Regions from separate parts of the Homo sapiens genome. Here region 1 is linked to region 2. Evidence: promoter capture Hi-C in 16 types of primary human blood cells and fetal thymus (Javierre and others, 2016). All regions are on one chromosome and are shown on one strand. Each heading gives the region's core, a stretch centred on a gene start or on the middle of the fragment in contact. The rest is flanking DNA. Distances are from core to core; before and after follow the strand shown. Region 1 has its middle 11 kb from the start of ZNF57. Region 2 holds the start of S1PR4 (sphingosine-1-phosphate receptor 4).

The links. The method cuts DNA at HindIII sites, captures the fragments that hold promoters and counts their contacts. A CHiCAGO score of 5 or more calls a contact.
Region 1: a fragment that was not itself captured here is called in contact with the fragment with the promoter of S1PR4 in region 2 in 1 of 17 cell types (total B cells); the score reaches 5.3 in total B cells.

What each region holds. Positions count from the first base shown.
Region 1 is chr19:2,887,911-2,892,588 of GRCh38, forward strand. No RefSeq gene overlaps it. Among named protein-coding and RNA genes, the nearest start is that of ZNF57, 11 kb to the right of the region's middle. The HindIII fragment of the contact is 3,088 bases long and covers 399-3,486 here.
Region 2 is chr19:3,177,519-3,181,774 of GRCh38, forward strand. S1PR4 (sphingosine-1-phosphate receptor 4) reads left to right here and starts at 1,251. Exons shown (of 1, transcript NM_003775.4): 1 at 1,251-2,814. The coding sequence starts at 1,275. The coding sequence ends at 2,429. RefSeq lists enhancers at 1-115, 1,699-2,348, 2,389-2,568, 2,609-2,838, 3,449-3,498 and a silencer at 919-1,468. The HindIII fragment of the contact is 14,219 bases long and covers 1-4,256 here.

The sequences.
Region 1 (4,678 bases), core at 693-3,192, 290 kb before region 2:
CTGCTTGGTCATGTCCTTGCCTCTGCCCCTTAGCCAGGAACTTTACACAAACATAAAATGTATCTATACCTCTACATCATGCCATAAATGAAAATTGTTTCCAGATTTATCACCGAAGATAAATGTGAAAACATAAGAGATCATGAATTGGAATAAGCAAACATTTCTGAAAACACAAAAACACCATAAAATAGAATGAACAGATATTAGAAGCTACAAAACAAAAGGCACCATAGCAGAGTGAAAAGAGAGTTTATAGAATGGAAGAAGAAACGTGCGATACACAGATCTGGCAAAGGGCTTGCATACAGAGTCTAAACGCTCCTATAAATTACTAAGAAGGCAGGCAGCACAATAGAGAAGTAAAATTACAGATTTGATTAATCATTCACAAAGGAAGCTTGTCCAAGTGGCTAATATTTAAATGATAATTCAGTTTTTTCTTAAGGGAAATGCAAATTAGAGCGAAAATGACATACTACTACTCCCTACCATACTGACTGAAAGCCCAAAACATCCAGGAAAATGCTATTGCTGAATATGTGCAACAGAAATGCTAAGTTGTGGCTGGCACAGTGGCTCACGCCTGTAGTCCCAGCATTTTGGGAGGCTGAGGCGGGAGGATCGCTTGCGCCCAGGAGTTCAAGACCAGCCTGGGCAACACAGTGAGACCACCCCCCCCATCTCTAAAAAGAAAAAATAAATAAAAATTAAAAAAATGCTAAGTTGCTACAACGTCTTTGGAAAACTGTGCCTTTTGCATGGCTCGGTATGTTTAGATACACAAATCCTTATTGTGGTGGAGCCCCTTCCTTCCGAGCTTTCCGGAAAACCAACGACACAACTCCCCAAACAGGAAGCACAACCCGCTTGCACCTGTGCACCATGCTCGGTTGGAGCTCCCAGCTGCCTCCAGGGCACAGCGGCTTTGGAGGAGGGGCCGCGTTGCATGCTGGGAGCAATCTGAGGGGCGGGACCCTAGCGTTTAAGGGCTGTCCTTTTTTGAACCACATTTCCAAAGCGCTCGGGTTCCCCGAGTGGTGCCCCAAGCAGTGGACGAGCAAGGTGCCCGAGAAGGAGGGGACCACAGACACCGCCTGGTGTCCACGGACTACCAGGAAGCCAGGGGGCGGTGGCCTCCGTGGGGAATGCGCATGTGCGGTCCCGAGCCTCAGGCTAGCGTTCGGGACTAGAGTGGGGCGTCGCCGCCGCATGTTGCACCTGTCGGCAGCGCGGCCTCTCCCGGATGTGACGTAGCGTGACGCCTGCAGGATTGATGCTGAAATGACGAGGTGGCAGCGCCGGTTCCTGTAGCTGAGGGGTGTGAGTTCGAGGTCTGATTGTCCTCGTTTTCTACTTCCGGTCACCTCACTGCCACATGGCAGGCCTCCAGGGGAATACGCTTAAGATGAGACACCTGCGCATCTCTCTTTTTTTTTTTTTTTTTTTTTGAGACGGAGTCTCGCTCTGTCACCCAGGCTGGAGTGCGGTGGCGCAATCTCGGCTCACTGCAAGCTCCGCCTCCTGGGTTCACGCCATTCTCCTGCCTCAGCCTCCCGAGTAGCTGGGACCACAGGCGCCCGCCACCACGCCCCGCTAATTTTTTGTATTTTTAGTAGAGACGGGGTTTCATCGTGTTAACCAGGATGGTCTCCATCTCCTGACCTTGTGATCTGCCTGCCTCGGCCTCCCAAAGTGCTGGGGTTACAGGCATGAGCCACCGCGCCTGGCCTCTTTTTTTTTTTTTCTTTTGAGACAGAGTTTCGCTCTGTCACCCAGGCTGGAGTGCCGTGGCCTCATCTTGGCTCCCTGCAACTTCCACCTCTCAGGTTCAAGCCATTCTCCTGCCTCAGCCTCCCGAGCAGCTGGGACTACAGACGCGCACCACCACGCCCAGCTAATTTTTGTATTTTTAGTAGAGACGGGGTTTCACCATGTTGGCCAGGCTGGTCTCGAACTCCTGACCTCAGGTGATCCACCCACCGCGGCCTGCCAAAGTGCTGGGATTACAGGCGCGAGCCAGCACACCCGGTCACACCTTTGCATCTCTAGGCAAGATTCGTAGTCAGAAGACACAAAACCAGACTTGGAATTCCTGATTTAGGGTTGAAATGGCCTCAAGCCTGGGAATACGTGCAGATACCTAAGGACTGGAATTCCGCCCAGGATGACCCTCAAAGGGAAGTTCACGTTTCAGACCTACGGTGTGTGCAGAGCTCAGGCCCCAGGAACTTGGGGACAGAGGTGCCTTCTCGCTTCTCTCTGAATCTGTGTCTGAGGTGAGAGAGGCATGGCCCTGGTGGCCTTTCTTAATTTCAGGTTGGGTTCCAAGAAAGCAATGACGGCTCGCGATTTCTTCTTTCTCACGCCATTCTCTGTTCGGTTGCCAAGGAAGTGGAAAAAAATTGGTTTTGCTTATCTAAAAAGGTTCAGGTGAGTTTATTTTTATTATTTATTTATATGTATTTATTTTTTGAGATGGAGCCTCGCTCTGTCGCCCAGGCTGGAGTGCAATGGTGCAACCTCTCTGCAACCTCCGCCTCGCGGGTTCAAGCGATTCTCCTGCTTCAGCCTCCTGAGTAGCTGGGATTACAGGCATTCGCAACCACGCCCAGTTAATTTTTGCATTTTTAGTAGAGACGGGTTTCACCGTGTTGACCAGGCTGGTCTTGAACTCCTGACCTCATGTGATCCACCTGTCTCCGCCTCCCAAAGTGCTGGGATGACAGGCGTGAGCCACCATACCTGGCCGACTTGCTGTTTAATTCAGCAAAAAGGTGTTGTATTTCTGCTTTGCTGTGACATGTATCGGAAAATTGAGCATATGGAAATAATGAGTGTGAAGAGCAGCATGTGCTCCTGTTTGGGCATTATGCCTCATTAGAAAAAAATCTGGCCTTTCCGGAGGTTGCAGTGAGCCGAGATTGTGCCACTGCACTCCAGCCTGGGTGACAGGGTGAGACTCAGTCTCAAAAACAAAACAAAACAAAAACTACCATCTCCTATAAAAGGGCATTAAAATTTTCCAAAATTTGGGATTTTGAACACCGTCCCAATTTAGTATCAAAGTATTTTTGAGAATGCCAAATATCCTTTGATACTAAATTGGGACGCTGTTCAAAATGACACAGTGTCTGCAGCTCACCTTCATTATTCCTAGACTCTCCCTTACCATCCACAGCTCTTCTTGCATCTACCGGATCACCAAGAACTTGCACAGCTATCATTCTGCTTGTAGGAAAGGGCACATGCTGGATTAAAACCGTGCAGATGACCACATCCTTTTACAAACCAGGGGCAACTCTGTGGCTTCCTAGGCTACAGATTCTCTCAGACTACACTAGCAGCAAATTGAGAAGGCCACCTCTTTAATACAATTTACAATTCATTCAAAAGGACTCTATAAACAGCCACACTTGATGGCCCGAATAACTGGTGAGACTCTGGTGACCTTTTCACTTCATAGGTACATATCATATTACCTAAAGCTTTTGAGCATTGCAAAAATAAAGATGGACCGGCCAGGCATGGTGGCTCACGCCTGTAATCCCAGCACTTTGGGAGGCCGTGGCAGGCAGATCACGAGGTCAGGAGATCGAGACCATCCTAGCTAACACGGTGAAACCCCATCTCTATTAAAAATACAAAAAATTAGCCGGGTGTGGTGGCGGGCACCTGTAATCCCAGCTACTCAAGAGGCTGAGCCAGGAGAATCACTTGAACCTGGGAGGCGGAGGTTGCAGTGAGCCACGATTGCGCCATTGTACTCCAGTCTGGGCAACAGAGCAAGACTTCATCTCAAAAAATCAATCAATAAATAAAGATGGACCATGAGAGTTTTATTTTGTAGGAAATTATTACTCTGTTAACTCCATGAATGCAGGACTGGGTATCACTCCACACTATTTACAAACACCCTGAGCAGTCCCTGTGATAGTGTTTACTTAACACATACTGAGTGATGGAAATATAAATTAATAAATACATCCTCATTCTCCAATGCCCCACCATCCATAGAAAAAATGCAAAATACGTCCCTCTGTTTTCCCGATTATCTCCCTTGTGGATTATTTTCTTCCAAGACCCATTTTTTTTTTTTTTTCGGACGAAATCTTGGTCTGTCGCCAGGCTGGAGTGCAGTGGCAGGATCTCGGCTGACGGCAACCTCCACTTCCCGGGTTCAAGTGATTCTCCTGCCTCAGCCTCCCCAGTAGCTGGGATTACAGGTGCCTGCCACCAGGCCCGGCTAATTTTTGTATTTTTAGTAGAGACGGGGTTTCACCATGTTGGCCAGGCTGATCTCGATCTCTTGACCTCATGAACCGCCCACCTCAGTCCCCCAAAGTGCTGGGATTACAGGCGTGAGCCACCGCGCCTGGTCCCCAAGACCCGTATTTTTTATATCAAGTCTCTACTTGTTACATTAAAATCTTTACTTTTTAAAAAAAATCTCTTTTCCCAGAAAAATACACGCCCTCGAACTGCGAGGACTTATTCTATATTGAGAGCCTGCTGTGTCTTGATTACTTTTCAGCCTAATTTTTTGTTTTGAGCTTACAATGCCTGGTATATAAGAGAGGCTCAAAAAGTAGGATCAGGTTAAAATCATGGTCTTTGGGCTAGAAGGAATTTTTCTTTTCTTTTCTTTTCTTTTTCTTTTTCTTTTTTCTTTTCTTTT
Region 2 (4,256 bases), core at 1-2,500:
GAATCCCAAAATGGGCGCCTGGCCCCGAGACCCTACCAGCTTGTCCCTGGGGGTCTCTCTCCCTGGACCTGTGTGTCCTCCCATGGGCAGAAAGTTGGCCTCAGGCCGCCTTTGTGGGCCTCAGTTTTCCCTTCTGTAACGCATCAGGCTCTCTGGGCCTCAGTTTCCCCTTCTGCAACGCATCGGGCTCTCTGGGCCTCAGTTTCCCCTTCTGCAACGCATCGGGCTCTCTGGGCCTCAGTTTCCCCTTCTGCAACGCATCGGGCTCTCTGGGCCTCAGTTTCCCCTTCTGCAACGCCTCGGGCTCTCTGGGCCTCAGTTTCCCCTTCTGCAACGCATCGGGCTCTCTGGGCCTCAGTTTCCCCTTCTGCAACGCCTCGGGCTCTCTGGGCCTCAGTTTCCCCTTCTGCAACGCCTCGGGCTCTCTGGGCCTCAGTTTCCCCTTCTGCAACGCATCGGGCTCTCTGGGCCTCAGTTTCCCCTTCTGCAACGCATCGGGCTCTCTGGGCCTCAGTTTCCCCTTCTGCAACGCATCGGGCTCTCTGGGCCTCAGTTTCCCCTTCTGCAACGCCTCGGGCTCTCTGGGCCTCAGTTTCCCCTTCTGCAACGCCTCGGGCTCTCTGGGCCTCAGTTTCCCCTTCTGCAACGCATCGGGCTCTCTGGGCCTCAGTTTCCCCTTCTGCAACGCATCGGGCTCTCTGGGCCTCAGTTTCCCCTTCTGCAACGCACCGGGCTCTCTGGGCCTCAGTTTCCTCTTCTGTAACGCATCAGGCCCTGTTTCGGGGATCAAGTCGGATGAGTCAGTGCTCAAGGGCATGCAGGCACTTGACATTTATTAGGCACCTGCTGTGTGCTGAGCGCCGGTGGAGCATGTGGGGAGACCTCAGTGGAGCCGACGGGTGCTTCGGGGGTGATCAGGGCTGGTGGGGAGGAGTCGTCCGGCTGGAAAGGGGTGGCCCATCCCGAGTGGGGACTCATTTCCCCTCCGTGACTGACGGCTCCGGGGCTCCCTGCGGGTCTCCGGCTTTCGAGGACAGGAAGAAGGCAGCCAGGGCAGGGGTGGGGGTCCTCACAGCCAGGGCAGCCCCAGCGCGTTGGCTCCAGGAGCCCGGGTGGGGGCCGACCGTTGGGGTGCCCCTCCCTGTCCTCGGCCTTACCTCCACCCTGGAGGGCACCTTGAACATAACAGGAAATTTCAAATAACAGGAAACCAAGACCAGCAAGGCGGGTGGCTCCACCCTGCGTCGGGCCTCAGTCAGCCCCCGGGGGAGGCCATGAACGCCACGGGGACCCCGGTGGCCCCCGAGTCCTGCCAACAGCTGGCGGCCGGCGGGCACAGCCGGCTCATTGTTCTGCACTACAACCACTCGGGCCGGCTGGCCGGGCGCGGGGGGCCGGAGGATGGCGGCCTGGGGGCCCTGCGGGGGCTGTCGGTGGCCGCCAGCTGCCTGGTGGTGCTGGAGAACTTGCTGGTGCTGGCGGCCATCACCAGCCACATGCGGTCGCGACGCTGGGTCTACTATTGCCTGGTGAACATCACGCTGAGTGACCTGCTCACGGGCGCGGCCTACCTGGCCAACGTGCTGCTGTCGGGGGCCCGCACCTTCCGTCTGGCGCCCGCCCAGTGGTTCCTACGGGAGGGCCTGCTCTTCACCGCCCTGGCCGCCTCCACCTTCAGCCTGCTCTTCACTGCAGGGGAGCGCTTTGCCACCATGGTGCGGCCGGTGGCCGAGAGCGGGGCCACCAAGACCAGCCGCGTCTACGGCTTCATCGGCCTCTGCTGGCTGCTGGCCGCGCTGCTGGGGATGCTGCCTTTGCTGGGCTGGAACTGCCTGTGCGCCTTTGACCGCTGCTCCAGCCTTCTGCCCCTCTACTCCAAGCGCTACATCCTCTTCTGCCTGGTGATCTTCGCCGGCGTCCTGGCCACCATCATGGGCCTCTATGGGGCCATCTTCCGCCTGGTGCAGGCCAGCGGGCAGAAGGCCCCACGCCCAGCGGCCCGCCGCAAGGCCCGCCGCCTGCTGAAGACGGTGCTGATGATCCTGCTGGCCTTCCTGGTGTGCTGGGGCCCACTCTTCGGGCTGCTGCTGGCCGACGTCTTTGGCTCCAACCTCTGGGCCCAGGAGTACCTGCGGGGCATGGACTGGATCCTGGCCCTGGCCGTCCTCAACTCGGCGGTCAACCCCATCATCTACTCCTTCCGCAGCAGGGAGGTGTGCAGAGCCGTGCTCAGCTTCCTCTGCTGCGGGTGTCTCCGGCTGGGCATGCGAGGGCCCGGGGACTGCCTGGCCCGGGCCGTCGAGGCTCACTCCGGAGCTTCCACCACCGACAGCTCTCTGAGGCCAAGGGACAGCTTTCGCGGCTCCCGCTCGCTCAGCTTTCGGATGCGGGAGCCCCTGTCCAGCATCTCCAGCGTGCGGAGCATCTGAAGTTGCAGTCTTGCGTGTGGATGGTGCAGCCACCGGGTGCGTGCCAGGCAGGCCCTCCTGGGGTACAGGAAGCTGTGTGCACGCAGCCTCGCCTGTATGGGGAGCAGGGAACGGGACAGGCCCCCATGGTCTTCCCGGTGGCCTCTCGGGGCTTCTGACGCCAAATGGGCTTCCCATGGTCACCCTGGACAAGGAGGCAACCACCCCACCTCCCCGTAGGAGCAGAGAGCACCCTGGTGTGGGGGCGAGTGGGTTCCCCACAACCCCGCTTCTGTGTGATTCTGGGGAAGTCCCGGCCCCTCTCTGGGCCTCAGTAGGGCTCCCAGGCTGCAAGGGGTGGACTGTGGGATGCATGCCCTGGCAACATTGAAGTTCGATCATGGTACGTGATGTTGCGGCCTCTTATTCCCTGGTGCGTGCATGCGTGGGGGCCGTGGCTCAGGGGGGCTGTGGATCTAGGGGCAGCCGGGTGTGTCTTTGCTAGAGAGGGCCACGGGCCAGTGCCCTGTGAGGGTGGAGTGTGTGTGTGTGTGTGTGTGTGTGTGTGTGTGTGTGGACAACCTCTGGGCGTTGCGGGAAGTGGGGGTGACAATGACAGTTAATGCCGCCTCTTCTTGTTCACTTCCCCTTTAGAAATGGCAGGGCCCATGCCCCATCTCTGGCCTCTGCATCTTTTGGGGACCCACTCTCTGGGGCTGGCAGAGGCACCACCTTGGCTTCCTGGGCTGGGGGAATCTTCCCTCACATCCCCTTCAGCATGAACGGCCTCGGCTTTCCCGGTGGGTAAAACAGTTTAATCACTGAAGCCGAAGCACAGGGTTGATTGTACACGCTCCCCGCCAGCCACAGGGGCTGACAACTGCCTGCCCCGTGAAACTCCAGTGGAGACGTTTCAGCTCCACACCATTCAGTATGGGAGACGCCAGCCCCACGGGGCTACGGTGCAAGCAGATAACTGAATTTCGAAGTGTAGGTTGTGTTTAATTTGAATCTGTTTATATTTCGGTAGCCCCATGGGGCGGGTGGCCACAGTTTCAGTGCAGATGTAAATCCGGAAGCCTCCAGCACCTGCAGCTCATAGACAGCTCTCGCCCACCTTCTCCCAGGACCAAGCCAGTCCCGTCCAGTCCAGTGTCTGAGCAGAGTCAGAATCCACACCACCCGCCGCCTGGGCTCAGAAAGTTCTGCTTTAAGTCATTATTTCTCCACTGTACGATGGGGAATGCGGTGTGTGGGGGCCATTTACCCACCAACACAGCAGCTGTGAGGCACACACGGCTATTGAAAATTCATGGAAATTGCTGGGTGTGGTGGCTCATGCCTGTAATCCCAGCACTTTGGGAGGCCGAGGCAGGAGGATTGCTTGAGTGCAGGAGTTCCAGACCAGCCTGGGCAACATAGCGAAACCACATCTCTACAAAAAAATCCTCCAAAATTAAAAAAATTAGCCCGAGCATGTTGTTGCATGCCTGTGGTTCCAGCTACTCGAGAGGCTGAGGTGGGAGGATCACTTGAGCCCGGGAGGTCGAGGCTGCAGGGAGCGGTGATCGTGCCAGCCTGGGTGACAGAGTGAGACCCTGTCTCTAAAAAAAAATTAAAAAAAAAAAAAAAAGAAAATTCATTGAAATTAAATGAAAGTTAGGCCAGGTGCATTGGTTCATGCCTGTAATCGCAGCACTTTGGGGGGCCGAGGTGGGTGGATCATGAGGTCAGGAGTTCAAGACCAGCCTGGCTAAGATGGTGAAACCCTGTCTCTACTAAAAATACAAAAAATAAGCTGGGTGCGGTGGCAGGCGCCTGTAATCCCAGCTACTCGGGAGGCTGAGG